2 separate regions of the Homo sapiens genome follow, and region 2 is linked to region 1. The links are contacts of gene promoters, found by promoter capture Hi-C in blood cells and fetal thymus (Javierre and others, 2016). All regions are on one chromosome and are shown on one strand. The core of a region is centred on a gene start or on the middle of the fragment in contact, and the rest is flanking DNA. Distances in the headings are between cores, read along the strand shown.

Region 1 (3,302 bases), core at 491-2,990:
GATTTGCTTAAAAATAATACTGGAGGGAGCAAGTAGGTGTAGATACAAGAAACAAGAGTAACTTGGATTTGATCACAGTTGAGGCCGAGTGATGGGTTAAAAACGGTGGGGGTGGGGAGTTCATTATACTACTACGTCTACTTATGCATATATTTGAAATGTTCTATAATGAAAGGTTTTAGAAACTCTAATTTCTTTATGTTTGTGACATCTAGTTACGGCATGTTTGGGTTTAGAGACTGAGGGTGGCTTTCCCCAGGGGTCCCACAGCCTGCTGATGAAGTACTTGGCACACCCCGCGCTCCCCTGGGTTCTAGCTTGCATCCTGGTCTCTAACTGAATGGTAGCCCGCCTACTTAGCTTGAGTGTTTCAAGGACTCCTCCTGGTCAAGAGCTGGGTTTCCCTATTCATTTCATTTAAACAAGCTCCCAAGAAGGCAACAGGGACCCACTGTACCCCAAGAGGCACTCCAAGTTTCCTTCAGAGAGGAAAAAGAGAGACGGGGCTCCTAGAACCCACTCTCCCCAAAGGCGAGTTTCCCAGGTAAGTTCATTTCGGGCCCGAGACTGATGGAGCCACCCTCCCACCAGAAGGGCGGCGTGGAGGACCGGAGACCGAAAGTCGGGCCTCTGGGAGAAGCAGCTGGCGCCCAGGGGCTCCGCCGCCCGCACCCCACTCTCGCCCGCTGGGGACGCCCTTCCCTCCCCAAGGCGTGGACGCCCCGCTCCGCTTCTCTCTACGCAGGCCCGCGCGGCCGCTACCTGCAGCACTTGGCCAGGCTCTCCCGCAGCGTCTTGCGCTCCTGCAGGCGCCGCTCGTGCTGTTGCTGGAAAGCGAGCTCGCTGTAGACCGGCCGCGACACCATGTAGCTGCAGCTGTACTCGGGGAGCTGCGGCGGCTCCGACCTGCCGCCTGGCGCTGCCATGACCTGCGAGCCAGAGGACAGCGAGGAGGGAGGACACGCGGTAAGCGAGGACGATCGGAGGGGAAGAGCGAGGAACAGAAAGAACGGGATCACCTGTTAGCTGCAGCCAGGCCCCCCTGCACCGCGAGTCTGGTCCGCGTCCTGCAGCCCTCGGCGCTCGCGACAAGCGCCCCACGGCGCGCACGGCCAGCCTGCAGGGGGGCACCTGAGAACCTTCGGGTCTCGTGGCCTGCACCCGCTGCCCGGGGTTCCCCAAACTTGAAGCGAGTAAGCCCCTGCTCTGGGGGCTTCCCGAGTTCCACCCAGTCCCCTATGGCCCGCAGCCAGGGCGCTGTCCGCGTTCTGAAATCTCCCCCAAACCGAGGGGCTGGGGCAGGGGCCAAAGGCGCTTGCAAGGCTGGAAGGGGACACTGAGATTCCCTCCCTCCCCGCACCTGACCCGGGACGCAGCTCCAGGTGCGCACTGGAGGAGAGGTGCAGACCCCCGGGCCAGGCGTGGAACCGTCAGGGCGCGCTCCGCGGGTCCCCAAGAGGCGGACGCTGCAGGCACATTCCAGCAGCTGTCGCAGCCCTCTCGGGGGCAGAACTTTCAGCTTATTGAGCAAGTCTCTCCCCTCGTCCTGTTTTCCGAGCAGCCTGTTCGCTCTCGGCGTCTCAGAAAGAAAGCTGTACTGCCCCCTGCCCACCTGATCCGTGACCACTTAAGAGTCCCATCCGCAACCCTCGAGGCCTCCCCGGGAGTGGAGCCCGGGCCGGGCGGTGTGGGCATCTTCAGGGCGAACTCACCTGTCTCTGCTCGCGCCCCGCCCGGAATGCCCCGCGGACTACCCTTCCGCTGCCTTTATAGCGCTCTCAGAAGGCAGTGGGACGTTTTATTTACGGAGCAACAGACACCTTGGTCGAAGGGAAAGACACACACAGGCTGCGGTCTTTCCCAACCGATCCTATCAGGAAAGAAATCCTACCCCTCCTGCATTCTTCCCCTTTCCCGAACCGGGAAGGCTGAGACTCTTACTGGCTGCCACGCAGGGGCCACCCGGATCCTCACTCATCCCGTTACTAATCTCAAGGGTTGCGAGGTCAGGGGCGGGCCAGGCCCTGTGGGACTCCTTAAAGAAGAGCAGAGCCCGCCTAGAGGAAGAGGTCCGTGGTCTCTGGGAGCCTGCCACAGGTGCTCTCATACCACATGGGGAGGAGAAGAGGAACAATGGCCAGGTTTCTATATTAATAAGTCCTTGAATTTCTAGAAAGTCTTTTAGGAGTATTCAATGGGTGGAGGATACAGAGAGTTCACGATTTACTCAGATTTTAGCCACTTATTCTACGTGTGCATGTGTGTGTGTTTTATTTCACAATCCAAATCAAGCCGTCCAGGTGGCCCTTTCTTACCCACTAGACTCTGTTTTTTCTTTTTCTCATTCTCCTGGACAATCAGGGAAGGAATAAACTGGACTACATGGAAATCAAGACTAGAAGAGAGGGAGGAGGAGCTGGAGCTATCCTACCTCATCAGTGTTTTGTCTTCTGTTGGGATGAACTTTGTTAAAACTAATGCATGGTTAAGATGAAAGGCAGAAGGAAGGGTTTGATAAACCAGAACATTCTCGCCTGATTGTTAGTGTTCTGAAGTAAATACAGAAGAGGCTCCAAAATACAGACCTCTGTACATCAACCTTCCGTAATCCACCTGCCTTGCATATGCAGACCATGACAATTCTACGAGCTCCTGGAAACAGAACTCAGAACTCCTCCCCAGAGAACCCTGATGCAAATTCTCTGAAATGGTAGTCAGCATGTGCGTTTTCCTGAGAAGTGAATGAGTCAACAGCTTTCAACAGATCTTCAAAGGCTTACTTCACCCAATGAAGTTAAGAACCACTAAAGAAGAAACCTAAAAGGAAAATCCAGGTCATGAACTTTGCAATTTTTATTCACATACAGAGAAGAGGGGAGGAATCTCTTGTGTATGTTTTACTTATGTATACCACTGGTTCTTAATAAAGGGCTTTTTTTGCCTCCAGAGGTCAATGCCTGGAGACATTTTTGGTTGTCACACCTAGGGAGATGCTATTGGGATCTAGTGAGTAGAGACCAGAGATGCTGCTAAACATCCTACAATGAAGTTTGCTATCACTCCAAGGTTTTGCATGCGACTTAAACTGTACATTTATTAATCAATTGCTACATGTACTAAAATATGTATCTCTCTCCATATATGTATATATGCGTGTATTTTTTCATTATTGTTGGATGTATAGCTCAACTCCACTACAACAGAGGAAAGTATTTGTTTTAAAGTAGAATCTGAATATACTCACTCTGTATACCCTCATCCATACCTTCAAGATCTGGTGAAAACACTATCTCTTGCAAGAA
Region 2 (3,302 bases), core at 554-3,053, 430 kb after region 1:
TGGTGCGATCTCCATCTCAGCTTACTGCAACCTCCACCTTGCATGCCCAAGTGATCCTCCCGCCTCAGCCTCCTGAGTAACTGGGACTACAGGTGTGTGCCACCATGCCCAGCTAATTTTTATATTTTTTTGTAGAAACAAAGTTTCACCATGTTGCCCAGCCTGGTCTTGAATTTCTGAGCTCAAGCTATCTGCCCGCCTCAGCCCCCCAGACTGCTGGGATTACAAGTATGGCAGGTGTAAGCCACCACACCTGGCCTAGGCTATTATTTTTTATAGCCCCAGTCCCATGTTTAGTTGTTTATTGCATTATTGCACGTGCATGTATAAAATAATGCTAATTCAGCCTGGCCAACATGGTGAAACCCCATCTCTACCAAAAAGTACAAAAATTAGCCAGGCATGGCAGCACACATCTGTAGTCCCAGCTACTTGGAAGGCTGAGGTGGGAGAATCACTTTAACCCGGGAGCTGGAGGTTACAGTGAGTCGAGATTGTGCCACTGCACTGCAGCCTTGGTGACAGACTGAGACCCTTTACCGCCCACCACCCACACCCCCCGCCCCAAAAAAAAATAGTGCTAAGTTTCCTGTTTGCTGAGGCAGGATGACCTTCATGTAAGCACTCTTAAAGTTGTGTCATAGTATGGAGATACAAGGTCTGAGGATAAGTTTCACTTAAGACATCTATTTTAAGCCATTTAAGATGGAAATTTTCTGCCAACCCTTTCCAATTCTCACATGAGAGAAAGAATCTCTAAAGGAACATTTAAAGTTTGGGTGACACCTTCTAATACCTATTTATAGAATCAAGAATCGCTTGATCAATGTATAATTTTAATAGTTCTACTTTTTTTTTTATATCTAGCTTCTTATGGCGTAACAGTTTTCAAACTTTTGACCATGACCCACAGTAAAAGATACTTTCTATTGATATTTGGCATATACTTGTATGCAAACACATGAACACACTCAAATCTATATACATATACATGGACACCCATATGTATGGTTCATGAAATAGTAAGTACCCTTACTTCATGTGATAACCTCTAACATTTCTATTTCATTTGATTATTTTAACCCACTAAATTAGTTTAATGACCCACTCATGGCCTGCATCCAGCCATTTCTCAGATTTCTCACGAGGCCCTTAACTCTTGAACTTTAGTTGCTCTAGTGACAGGGAGCCAAGTTTTTTCCTTTCCACAAACTGTGAAGATTTATACCCTTTTCTCTTGGGATTCTGGTATCTCTGAGGTTCCTCCTGCAGATGACGTCTTAGCTCCCAAGGCCTCAGGCACATAAGAATAATTGTTTCTTGCCTATGGAGTATCCTTCATAGCTTGAGTTAATTGAAAAATTCCAACAGAGGTATTTTTCTATATACCATTATATTTCTATATTTATATTGAATCTACAGAAATCTACTGAATTAATCCTAGTGCTTTCTCAGTTGTTTGATGGGACTGATACAACTATTTTATAAAAAGCGTAGGATTAGGATTAACTGGATCAAGAAATAAAACAGAAGTATAATATATTAAGGGGTTCAAATCCAGCCCTGGTCTACAAAGAATGTTTTCAGTCCTATCAGATGAGAAGAAGAGAGATGTGAGCATGTGCTGCGGCCTCTGCCCCGCACCATTGTTGGGAAAGCCCTGGCCCTGCCAGCTTCTTTGCAGTTGTCATGTAAAGAGAATTGACTTGAGAAAGCTTACCCATGTGGCGGGTCCTACCAAATTCCTTCCTAGAGAGGAGTAAATCAGTACAGAGCCATCTTTATTCTAATAACCTAATTATAGGCCCTCTGTTTTACCTACCTGCAAAATCTTGTTAGAGATCTGTCTCTTCTTTAAAATGAGTCCTGAGCAGTTGCAGTGAAAAGCTTACTCTTATTAATATGTGCACTTCTTCCATCTGTGCTGTGGGCTGTGACAAAGAATAGGCATCATCCAAGTTAGACCTTGGCACTTGTTCATGGGTCTCCTCACCAAAGACTCTCAATCAAACCAAAACCAGTTGAATGGTAGTCAGTAGGAGATTGCCTGAATAAAATATGCTAAATTCATAGGATCAAATATATGCAGACATTAACAGTAATATTATTAGTTAATATCTGGTAAAATGAAAAATACTCCCTAGTGCATCACTAGGTAAAACAGGTGACTAAGCAGTATATGGTATGACCTCTACTATTTTTTTTATTGTTTTTTTGTGTGTGTGTGATGATGTCTCGCTTTTGTCCCCCAGGTTGGAGTGCAATGGCATGATCATGGTTCACTGCAACCTCCGCTTCCCAGATTCAAGCGATTCTCCTGCATCAGCCTCCCGAATAGCTGGGATTACAGGCCCCTGCCACCATGCCCGGCAAATTTTTGTATTTTTAGTAGAGACGGGGTTTCACCACGTTGGCCAGGCTGGTCTCAAACTCCTGACCTCAGGTGATCTGCCTGCCTCGGCCTCCCAAAGTGTTGGGATTACAGGCAAGAGCCACCATGCCCAGCCGACCTCTACTATTTTTAAAATAATAGCATCTACTAGCCTCAGCAACATGGCAAAACTCTGTCTTTACAAAAGATAGAAAAATTAGCCAGGCATGGTGGTGCACATCTGTGGTCCCAGCTACTCGGTAGGCTAAGGTGGGAGGACCTGAGCTCAGGGAGGTCAAGGATGCAGTGAGCTGTGATTGGGTCATTGCACTCCAGCCTGGGTGACAGAGTGAGACCCTGTCCCAAAATATAAAATAAATGAATAAAAGTATTTGTTTGAATGGAGAATAAAAGACAAAAAGGAAAAACATGAAAATATCTTTGACTAAGATTGTCACTTGGGGTTTTTTTTAGGGTTTTTATTTTTTTTAAATTTTCTGCCTTATTTTATTTTTATAGTCAGAAAAGTCAAATACTATTTTTAAATCTCTCTTGCATTGTTTTTCCCATTTGAAAATAACCATGGAGCTAAAAAGTAATAAAAAAATGTACTAAAACATTACCCAATAAAGAGCAGGCGTGAGTTGACAAGAAAAACAGGCAGCCAAACAGCCAAAAGCCAGTAGGTTGCAATAGCCACAGAGGGCCTCAGTTCCAATTAGGGGCAGTGGCTGCAGGGGAGGGCAATGGGCTCAGTTCAGGGGTCCCTTCATAATGGAAGATGACAGTGCCAGCTGGAGTTTGAGTCCAGACCACACCCAGCATGTACACACATGCACACGCCCTCATACATACACACACACAGGCCTTAGTAGGTGCTCCCTTCCCCCATCATGCAGCCATCTGCCAGGGGGCACTTTCTTCTTGATGG

Evidence for each region. The method cuts DNA at HindIII sites, captures the fragments that hold promoters and counts their contacts. A CHiCAGO score of 5 or more calls a contact.
Region 2: a contact is called between a fragment that was not itself captured here and the fragment with the promoter of SLC26A4 in region 1, in 1 of 17 cell types (total CD4 T cells). The highest score is 5.1, in total CD4 T cells.

What each region holds. Positions count from the first base shown.
Region 1 is chr7:107,659,266-107,662,567 of GRCh38, reverse strand. It overlaps SLC26A4 (solute carrier family 26 member 4), which reads right to left and starts at 1,740. Exons shown (of 21, transcript NM_000441.2): 1 at 1,713-1,740; 2 at 763-929. The coding sequence starts at 926. It overlaps SLC26A4-AS1 (SLC26A4 antisense RNA 1), which reads left to right and starts at 770. Exons shown (of 2, transcript NR_028137.1): 1 at 770-966; 2 at 2,362-3,302. The HindIII fragment of the contact is 14,838 bases long and covers 1-3,302 here.
Region 2 is chr7:107,224,966-107,228,267 of GRCh38, reverse strand. All of the region lies in intron 19 of COG5 (component of oligomeric golgi complex 5), which reads left to right. It overlaps LOC124901721 (a long non-coding RNA gene), which reads right to left. Exons shown (of 3, transcript XR_007060472.1): 2 at 1,823-1,931. Among named protein-coding and RNA genes, the nearest start is that of HBP1, 58 kb to the right of the region's middle. The HindIII fragment of the contact is 172 bases long and covers 1,718-1,889 here.